Linked DNA regions of Homo sapiens: regions 2 and 3 are each linked to region 1. Evidence: promoter capture Hi-C in 16 types of primary human blood cells and fetal thymus (Javierre and others, 2016). All regions are on one chromosome and are shown on one strand. Each heading gives the region's core, a stretch centred on a gene start or on the middle of the fragment in contact. The rest is flanking DNA. Distances are from core to core; before and after follow the strand shown.

Region 1 (3,254 bases), core at 255-2,754:
GGCCAGGAGTTCGAGACCAGCCAGGCCAACATGGTGAAACCTTGTCTCTACTAAAACTACAAAAATTAGTGGACGAGGTGGTGAACATCTGTAGTCCCAGCTACTCGGGAGGCTGAGGCAGGAGAATCGCTTGAACACACGAGGCGGAGGTTGCAGTGAGCTGAGATCGCGCCACTGCACTCCAGCCTGGGCAACAGACTAAGACTCTGTCTCAAAAAAAAAAAAAAAAAAAAGGATTCTTAAGCAGGTCCTTCCCTTTACTTTTCTGAACCTCAGTTTCCTCATCGGCAAAATGAGGATGACATCACCAGGCACCTGGCAAAGTCTACATAAAGATTAAATGAAATAATATGCCTGGTAAAGTGCTTCTTAATCATATGCTTGTAAATAGTTATTACTGCTTTAAGCACTTCCCAAAGGACACAAAGATGCCTTTTTTCTTCTGGAAGGGTCAACGAAGCCCAGGTAGAAAATGAGACCATGACCCCAGCTATCTACAAGGGGTTGACCTCAAAGAGTTTCCCAGGACTACTTGTAGAAGTACCTCCCTTGCTCTGAGCAGAATGGAGAAGTAAAACCGGGGTTGGGGGTTGGCATTGCAGTAGGACTACCCATATGAGCTGGCACTCTACACACCTACACCTTACCTGTCCCAAAGTCATCTCCTCCTGGAAGTCTTGCCCTCCTACCCTGGACGCCTCATAATAGCTGGTTGAGCACTTACTATGTGCCAAGCTACTTGACATACCCAGTCTCACTGATTTCCACAGTAGTCTATTACCTCATTTCACAGATAAGGAAAAGAAGACTCAGAGAAATTAACTTGCCCAGGGCCACACAGTTACTAAGTGGAAATGCCACGTCTCTAACTCGCTCAGACTTCAAACTGCCCTCTTGGTCTCCCATCTAGGGTGCCCTAAGAATTCTCCCTCTCCCCATTTAGGGCACTTTCACATACACTTCTCATTATCTTTACCACTCTGAGCAGCAATGTTAGGACCCCATTGAATAAACAGGTCAGCTAAGGCCAGGGAGGTGAAAAGACTTGCCCAAGGTCACACAGCAAGCCCAGCACAGCGCCGAGGTTCGGACCCCAGGCTCTCGCTTCCCCGCCCTCCTCCCAAACTGGGGCCCTGACCACCGCCTCAGGGCCCCCAGGTGGGCTGCGACCCAAGGTGGCCGTGTCTGGGGGTCGGGCCGCGACCCTGCCAGGGGAAGGAGGGGCAAGGCCGTCCGGACTACCAAAGGATGCCTAGGAGGCAGGGCAGAGGATGCTCCGGCTCGCGGGACAGCAAAGCCAGGCAGAGGCGCGGGCGCAGGTCGCAGGGAAAACCCCAGGCGGCCACAGGATTAGCCCTGCTCGGTGGGCGCCCGGCCCCTCCGACTCACCTGAGGCCCGAGCCGAAAGCGGGCGGCGGCGGCGGCGGCGGCGGCGGCGGCGGCGGCGGGGGCGGCGAACCCCTGGCTCAGCCATTCCCCGCTGCCCCGGATGGGGAGAGACAGTGGCCGCTCACTTCCTTAGCAACCTGGCTCGGCGACCCACTTCCTTAGCAACCGGTGTCAATTTCAATAACTTTATTGGCACACGAGCAGAGGACAGGGAAAGCCGGCTGGAGGGGTCTGGGCGGGGCTCAGGTCGGTGCTGGTGTTTAGCGGGGGCCCAACACACCTCGGTCTCCTCACCCACCTAAGCGGGGAGAGTGGCGCACAACGTGGCCTGACTCCATCCTCTGGTATCTCGTGCCTCAGTTTCCCATCTGTAAATGGAACACACGCGATTTCAGCCGCCGTTCAACCTTTCTAAAAGCTTTCACATCCATTATCTGACTGGTGTCTCAAACTGCTACTGAGGTAACTCCCATTTAGGGTGCCCCCAGTGACTCAATACGAACACCTATAGGCACCCTTGTTGTAGCTTTCCTGTCCTTCACCCAATCCAGTCAGTCACAACCGCCCCAGGCAAGGCCAGGCCACGCTCATCTCTAGCCTGCCTGAAATATCTGGTCTGTTTCCATTCTTTTGTCCAGCTCTGTCCGAACAATCCATTTTCCATAAGGTGGCCAGAGTAATTATTTAAAACAGATCATGCGGCCAGGTGCGGTGGCTCCCGCTGTAATCCCAGCACTTTGGGAGGCTGAGGCAGGTGAATCACCTGAGGTCAGGAGTTCGAGACCAGCTTGGCCAACATGGCGAAACCCCGTCTCTAATAAAAATACAAAAAATTAGCCGGGCGTGGTGGCGCATGCCTGTAGTCCCAGCTACTCGGGAGGCTGAGGCAGGAGAATCGCTTGAACCCGGGAGGCAGGGGTTGCAGTGAGAGAGATGGCACCACTGCACTCCAGCCTGGGCGACAACAGCGAAACTCCGTCTCAGATATAAAGATTAAAATAAATAAATAAATAAATAAATAAATAAAACAGATCATGCCACTTTCTGATTAATACTCGATTTAATGGAGTCTCATTGCTCTTAGAATCAAATATGAAGTCCTTATTACTTCCTGCAAAATTCGTTAAAACTCTATTCCAACCACACTGGCCTAGAAGGGCAGGTTCCAACCCCCATGGAACTTACACCTGCTGTTCCCCACTAAATAGAAACTGCATAAGAGCAGTCTTTTATTTGTTCACTCTTGTATCCACCATGCCTGGAACCAAGCTTAGTCAATAGTAGTTGCTGAACAAATATGTTTTGCTCCTTGAATAAATGAATACCTGAGATGGTCTTCTTCATCTGCCTACAACTACTTTTTGCCTGTTGTGGCAGATATTGCTACTTCCTCTCAAAAACGTTATTTCTTCCTGCTCCTGGACACACAACTAGACAGTATTTCCCAGCCTTCCTTACAGTTCAGACCAAGTTCTGGCCAATTAAATGTGATGTGTGCTATTCTCAGGCCTGGCCCATTAAAACTCCCACATAATTTGATTTACACTTTCTCTACAGTGAAGAAGTTTATTTTTAAATAAAATAATAAAGGAAATACCAAAAGAGACTGCACCCAGCCTCTTTTGGTATTTCCTGAAGCTAATAATTGCCTCATTTTTTCCCCCCTTTCATTAGCTTTCTTTGCAGATATTGTTAATTTTTTCCTATGTGGTTAATAAATTAGACAAAATAATCAGCAGTGATTTTTCCAGATGTGTAACATAACAATTCGGCTAGGCATGGTGGCTCATGCCCATAATCCCAGCACCTTGGGAGGCTGAGGCAGGCAGATCACCCTGAGGTCAGGAGTTCAAGACCAGCCTGGC
Region 2 (3,254 bases), core at 443-2,942, 240 kb before region 1:
TGGCCACTGTTTTATTTTTCCTAAGCCACACTGTCACTAGCTTTATTAAAGATACTTTCTCATGAACAGTCATGACACTGCAGTCAGGACAGGGGCGACCATCAGTAGAAGAACACAGCTCCCCGCCTCCGTGCCTCCCAAACCTAGACAATCCCTGCAACACCCAACGAAGGGCCGACCGGGGCCGCGAGAGTGCTGGGCGCCCTTCACACTCACCATGATGTCACACTCACCATGGTGCTTAACAGCTTCTCACCAGACAGCCTCCTCTTAGAGGAAACAGAAATGGCAGAATTCTCAGTCCAAACATCCACCTCTGAAAACAGGACCCACGGCTCTTCTGAGCGATACCATCTCAGTGTCATCACTAGACTGCCTGCCTGACATGTGGCATCCGACCCGGTCAATGTATGGGGCTAGGGTTTAAAACCCCACTGAGGTTAAGAAAGTCAAATCTAGGTTGACGGTGGGGTGGAAACCCATTTGAGTTTGGTATCGGTGCAGAGGATCCCTGCCACCCAACCAAGCAGAAGTCTCTCTTAAAAAAAGGAGGAGGAGGGGGTGGTTCCTTTCAGGCCAGTTTCTTAGCCATTCCATTAGTGACATTTACTTTTTTTTTTTCCTTGGGACGGAGTCTTGCTCTGTCACCAGGCTGGAGTGCAATGACATGACCTTGGCTCACTGCAACCTCCACCTCCCGGGTTCCAGTGATTCTCCTGCCTCAGCCTCTGAAGTAGCTGGGATTACAGGCATGCGCCACCATGCCCAGCTAATTCTTGAATTTTTAGGAGAGTGGGGGTTTGTCATGTTGGTCAGGCTGGTCTCCCAACTCCTGACCTCGGGTGATCCGCCTGCCTCAGCCTCCCTAAGTGCTGGGATTACAGGTGTGAGCCACCACACCCAGCCGACGTCTACTTCTTCCTCAAAGAACAAAGAATGAAACATTCTATATGTGACAGGGTAGCTTTAAAGAGCAAAACTAAGTTCTGCATTCCTGTAAAACTTTATTCAAAATGTTATTTGATCTATAAAGTCACCAGAAGTACACAGCGTCAAAGAGGACCCCCATCCTCTAGGCCCCAGCTATTCCGGGTCCCCACCTTTTCTGCAGGGCTGTTCCTATCCTTGCCAAGCAGGAACTTCCCTTGTCCTCTTTGGGTAACTTCACCGCTTGTTGGCAGACTTTTTTTCCTTTTTAAATTATGGTAAAACATTTACAGCACAAAAACTTGCCTTTTTAATAATTTTGTTTGTTTGTTTCTGTTGTTGTTGTTGAGACACAGTCTCTGTCACCCAGGCTGGATCGCAGTGCTGCCTCAACGTCCTGGGCTCAGGTGATCCTCCCACCTCAGCCTCCCGAGTAGCTGGGACTTCAGGCACGTGCCACCACACCCAGCTAACATTTTTACCTTTTAGTAGAGACGAGGGACTCACTATGTTTCCCAGGCTGGCCTTGAACTCCTGGGGTCAAGCAGTCCTCCTGCCTCTGCCTCCCAAAGTGCTGGGATTACATGCGTGAGCCACCGTGCCCGGCTTAATCGTTCCATTTTAAAGATATTATATTCACACTGTTGAGCAATCATCACCACTATCTATTTCCAAAACTTTTTCATCACCCTAAACAGAAACTCTGTACCCATTAAGCAATAACGTCCCATTCCCTCAGCCACCAGTCCCCAGTAACCTCGAGTTACTTTCTGTCTCTTTGAATTTGCCTATTCTAAGTATTTCGTGTAAGTAGAATCATACAGTGGTTGTCGTTTTATGTCTGGCTTCTTGCCCTTGGTATCGCGTTTTCAAGGTTGCAGGGACCCTTTTGGGCTATGGCTCTTGAGGGGCAGGTATTATAAGTCACCCCCGGATATCCTCTGGTCCTCCTGGACCTCGGCCCTGTCACCCTGCAGCCTGTCTCTTGGGCCTCCTTGTGATGGTAGAGGGCACTTGGTCTGGAAGTTGCTCCCACTTTTCCTCACGCTATGGAAATCCCAGCCCATCAGTGGGACTATGTACCAGGGGCACCTTTTGATTAAAAGGCTGGGGCAAAATGAATCTGGCCTGAAGTCCTTGGAAGAAGGAGGAGGAGGCCAGGTAACAAGTAATTGAAACAATTCCTACAGCAGCTTGGTCAGAGATTTTAATGGTTATCAAATTATGTCCCTACCTTTTAATTTCTTGTAATCTGTTCCAAAAAGGCAAGAAATAAGATCAGAAATACGGAGCAATATTTATGCACAAAGATGTCCCCTGCAGTGTTGTTTATAATAGCCCCAATGGGAACAACCTAAATAGCCAATCGTTAGAGAATGACTTAAGCAAATTATGGTAAAATATTACATGGCCATAAAAATTCTACTTACAAAGCAAAATAAGATTCTTGATGTTGGGGAAAATACCTATGACAAAATGTTAAGGAAAAAAAAACTTTTTAAAAGCAGACTGGAATTCTCTGTATGCATTATGAGATCATGTGTAAAAAAGAAAAATCACAGGGAAAAAATAAACAGAAGCATATGCCAAGCTGCGTGGTGCAATTATGGTTTTTAAATTTTTTCTTTACATCTTTCTGTACTTTGCAAATTCTCTGCAAAAAGAACATGCATCACTTTGATCTTCAGGACAACAAAGGAATAAATGGGAGGAGAATGTTCCTCTGCATATGATGAAGGAGGAACCAGAATTTGGGGGCTACTGAAGGCCTGGCTCAGACCTGGGAGGCATAAGGCACCTGAGGATGTTTTTGGGGGATGCTATGGGGTGGCGGGATTGGGTGAGGTGAGAGTGGCATGTGTTCACCTGGAAGATAACTGACTTAGACAGTGGTTGGAAACACAGATGCCTTCAAGGGTCTGGCAAGTATCATAATTGATACTTGCAAATGAGCAAAGCTGTGCAATATGATAAGGAGTGGTGGGGACTGTGGCAAAATGGGAGCCACACACCCTGTCTAAAAGAAGTGGCTGCTGAAGTGGCAGTGGTTGCTTGCCTTCGGGAGTGGGGGCCCCATGTGGCCAGACCTTATGTTCTTCAAAGAAGCCAAAAATTCCTATAAACGTGTGTGTGTGTTGTGGGGGTGGGTTTGCTGGGTTTTTTTGTTTGTTTTTTAGAGATAGATTCTCACTCTGTTGCTGAGGCTGGAGTGCAGTGGTGCCATCACAGCTCACTGCAGACTGCAGCCTTGACCACCTGGCCTCAAGCGATCCTCCCACTTCAGCCTCCTATGTAGCTAGGACTACAGGCACACACCACCACGTCTG
Region 3 (3,254 bases), core at 286-2,785, 170 kb before region 1:
AAAACCTCATCCTACAGCAGAACTGACCCCACCGGCACCTGGAGCGCACTGCCCTAGGGAAGGAGGCTGTCCCAGCCTGGACCTGGCTTCCTGCCTCACCAGTTGGTACATTTTGTTTTTGAAAGAGGTGGGATCCAAAAGAGCTGTTTCTAGCCACACTCCAAGCACCTGAGACTTTGGGCACAAGGACACTTTTTTTTTTTTTTTTTTTTTTTTTTGGAATCTCACCACACGGGTGCTCTGACCTGCTTGGAAGAGGCCAACGGGGCAGCTCTGGAAGGGTTGGGGGCTCCCCTGACAAGGCGCTGGGGCTGCAGCTCTGTTTAGAATCACCTTCGTGGACCCTGATGTTAGAATCCCACCCCCAGATAATTACCTTTCAAGTCTTAGGTGAGCAGAATTGCATATTTATTGAGAAAAGCAAAGTGGACCCTTTCTTCCTCTCCCCTTAGTAATTTATTTTTCTGAAAATGGATTCTTTTGTGTTTGTACAGATTGCTAGTCTGTGTCTGTCTGATCAGAAGGATGTATCCCCATACCTAACATTCCATATCACTACACTGATGTGGGCTGGGGCCAGTAGGGGCAGGACAGGTGCCAGGCTGGCTGTTCCTCTGCATGCCTGGTGCACCCTGTGGCCGCTAGCCCTTGGCCAGGCCATCCTGTTGCAGATCCCAGTGCTGCCACAGGGACACCACCAGGCACCTCCCTAGGCAACGCCAAGCAGGAGGACCTCACCCACACCCATGGCAAAGCAAAACAAAAGAGGCACCCCGACCCCATTCTACAGAAGCCCCAGTCCATGGTCACCTGTATTCTACCTCACACTCCAGCGTGGGCTTTTTCCAGGATGTGCCCTGAGCCTGTTCTGAACAGCTGTAACCCCAACTCCCCCACACAATGTGTCTGCCTGGGAGGTAAGTAAGTCCAGACTGGGTGTCCAGGAGCTGGAACCCAGAGAGCGTCCTGTCCCTAACCAGCCACTGCAGCCCTCCAGCTCTGGCCCTCAGCTGCTTGACAGGACGGACTGCTGGGAGATGGCAGCCGGTTGGCAGGGCCCTTGCCCTCACACCCCGCTGCCCAGGAGCCAGGTCTGAACTTCTGTGCACAGGCCTGGCCCCTCAGACTCACTCCTGCCAAGAGGGGCCACTTCTTCAGGGTGAGCCCCGGCTATCAGGCAGCCGTGAGCTCCAGGGCGGGCTGCAGCTCCCATCCCCTTGCGCCATGTTTGGAGTAAAGGGATCAGTGGAAGTGGAGGAGCCACTTGGGTTCTCCTAAGACCAGCCCTTCCGGAGGGGCCGGTCCTGGAAGAAACCCATAATCCCTGGAGTGTGAAAAAGGGCAAAAAGAAAAAGCTGGCCTGGTTTCCTTCCTCCCTGATTGATTGATTGATAGGCACTTCCTCTTGCTCAGTGCAATACCTACCAGTGCTGCTAAACCAGGGACTCGCCCAGACCTCAGCAGGCCCCCAGGGCCTCTCCGTGCAACACTCCGTAGCCATGACAGCAGCTCTCTGCTGCCCGCCCCTGCCCAGAGCTGGCAGAAGCCCTCTGTTGCCTTTCCTCCCTCAGAGCAGAGAGGCCCCAGGGGAGCCAGGGCCGAGTGGATCCTAGGATGGCCACGGAGAGCCACTCGCTCCCAGAACAGGCACCCCTTCCCAAACCAGCTTTTCTGCAGCCAATTGCCTGTTGCAGCTGTGGCCACTGCCTCCCGGCACTGTGGCAGACTCCCCCCAAGGAGGGATGGGGGGGGCACCAGTGAGGATGCCCCATCCTGCCTCAGGTCCAGAACTCTGAAAGGTAGGGTGCCCACCCCGTGCTTACTTCCGGCCCCTAGAGGTTGGGGGTGGTCGTTATCTCTCAAGTGGCCTCCAATACCCCATCCAGCCACACCACCTCTGCCTTCCATCTGACCAATCCCCAGGCCTCTGGTCAGGGCCAGGACACCTGAGACTCACCCTTAGCACAGCACAACCTCCAGTGCCCAAGGCCTCTCCCACACCCCAGCCATCCACACATCTGGCCCCACCTGCTCAGTACTACTCAACATTTGAATTCGTGTAAATATTTATTTTTGTGTGTGAACAATACTACAAAGTAATCAGTAAGATCTTTTGCAAAAATGTTACCCCAGGCAATTATTTGTGAAAATCTTAATGTTAAAACCTGGCAGAGACAATCGCCACCCTAGAATTCCTGGTATCAGTTACTTAACGTGTCACTTCTCCTCCCAGAGGCAGTACCCAAGCTAGACATGAACCGTTTGCATTTCTTGGCAGACAGGAGTGAGAAAGACTGGGGAAGGGGCTCCCTCCCCCTACCCACACAAGGATTAGATCTAAAGATCAGCATAAGCTACAGTTTGAAGTCATGTTTTTCTGAGTTCAAGCTGTTGGAACTGACCACCCTCCAGCCTGCCTTAGTACTGCGGCAAGAGCGTAGGTTCAATGTGTTTTCAAGAGAAAGGAAAGAATATGTTGTTAAAGTCCATTGGGCCTCCCAGGCCCCTCCAGGACAATGGATTTCATCATGTCGACCCCACCTCTTGGGTGGGCTCCTCCTTTCCAGTGAAACTACACCTGAAGCCCTAGAGATGGCAGAATCAGGAGCAAGTTTCTGCATGGAAACAGGATTCCATTTAGCTGGCTCAGTCAGGGAACTTGTTTTGCTTTTGTTTTAAAAGATGCAGCTTCAACCCCTTCCCCCTACTCCCGACTTGGAGGGCACCAAAGAGCTGGTTCTGATGAACTAAGCTCACTGCTGTCTCACCCTCACCAGAGGGACTGCCTTCTCCCAAAAGGAGCTCCCAAAGCCCTTGTCCCACAGCCATTTAAAAATCTTCTGAAGGGCCTCAGGGCACAAAGTGATCATTTGGGATCCTAAGTTAAAAAGGAAATGCAAGAGTAGGATACTCCAATTCCAGAGTCTTTGCAGGAGGCTAATCCCACAAGAAGGGTAGCATCAGAGAAGTGGGCATTGGTCTTAGTGGTGGATCATCAGGTAGACAAGTGATAGTGTGTGTAACCCATCTGAAATTCATTTTACCGTCACCACTCTTACAAAGGACAGTTTATTCCCAAGGACAGTGCTGACGGGGAGGGGGACAGGCAGGGAGTTAGGAGGGTTTTCGAGGATTTCAAACAGGTGGAACCCATCCATCCCTATTCCCAAGGGCCACTTACAACTCTAAGGGTGGTTACAGGATTAACTACCAGTTCATTTTCAAAATGCTGCTTTGAACTCAGAGGGTTGATA

What was found. The method cuts DNA at HindIII sites, captures the fragments that hold promoters and counts their contacts. A CHiCAGO score of 5 or more calls a contact.
Region 2: a fragment that was not itself captured here is called in contact with the fragment with the promoter of KIF3B in region 1 in 1 of 17 cell types (activated CD4 T cells); the score reaches 5.4 in activated CD4 T cells.
Region 3: a contact is called between a fragment that was not itself captured here and the fragment with the promoter of KIF3B in region 1, in 1 of 17 cell types (M2 macrophages). The highest score is 5.6, in M2 macrophages.

The regions. Positions count from the first base shown.
Region 1 is chr20:32,275,901-32,279,154 of GRCh38, reverse strand. KIF3B (kinesin family member 3B) reads right to left here and starts at 1,504. Exons shown (of 9, transcript NM_004798.4): 1 at 1,390-1,504. LOC124904885 (a long non-coding RNA gene) reads left to right here and starts at 1,612. Exons shown (of 2, transcript XR_007067561.1): 1 at 1,612-1,851. RefSeq lists silencers at 1,129-1,308, 1,329-1,488 and enhancers at 1,142-1,652, 1,699-1,748. The HindIII fragment of the contact is 2,066 bases long and covers 1-1,809 here.
Region 2 is chr20:32,511,862-32,515,115 of GRCh38, reverse strand. The region is part of intron 3 of NOL4L (nucleolar protein 4 like); the gene reads left to right. All of the region lies in intron 2 of LOC101929698 (a long non-coding RNA gene), which reads right to left. Among named protein-coding and RNA genes, the nearest start is that of NOL4L-AS1, 48 kb to the left of the region's middle. The HindIII fragment of the contact is 4,104 bases long and covers 1-3,254 here.
Region 3 is chr20:32,444,368-32,447,621 of GRCh38, reverse strand. NOL4L (nucleolar protein 4 like) reads left to right here. Exons shown (of 11, transcript NM_001256798.2): 11 at 1-3,254. The coding sequence ends at 26. Among named protein-coding and RNA genes, the nearest start is that of ASXL1, 88 kb to the right of the region's middle. RefSeq lists an enhancer at 1,539-2,200. The HindIII fragment of the contact is 7,271 bases long and covers 1-3,254 here.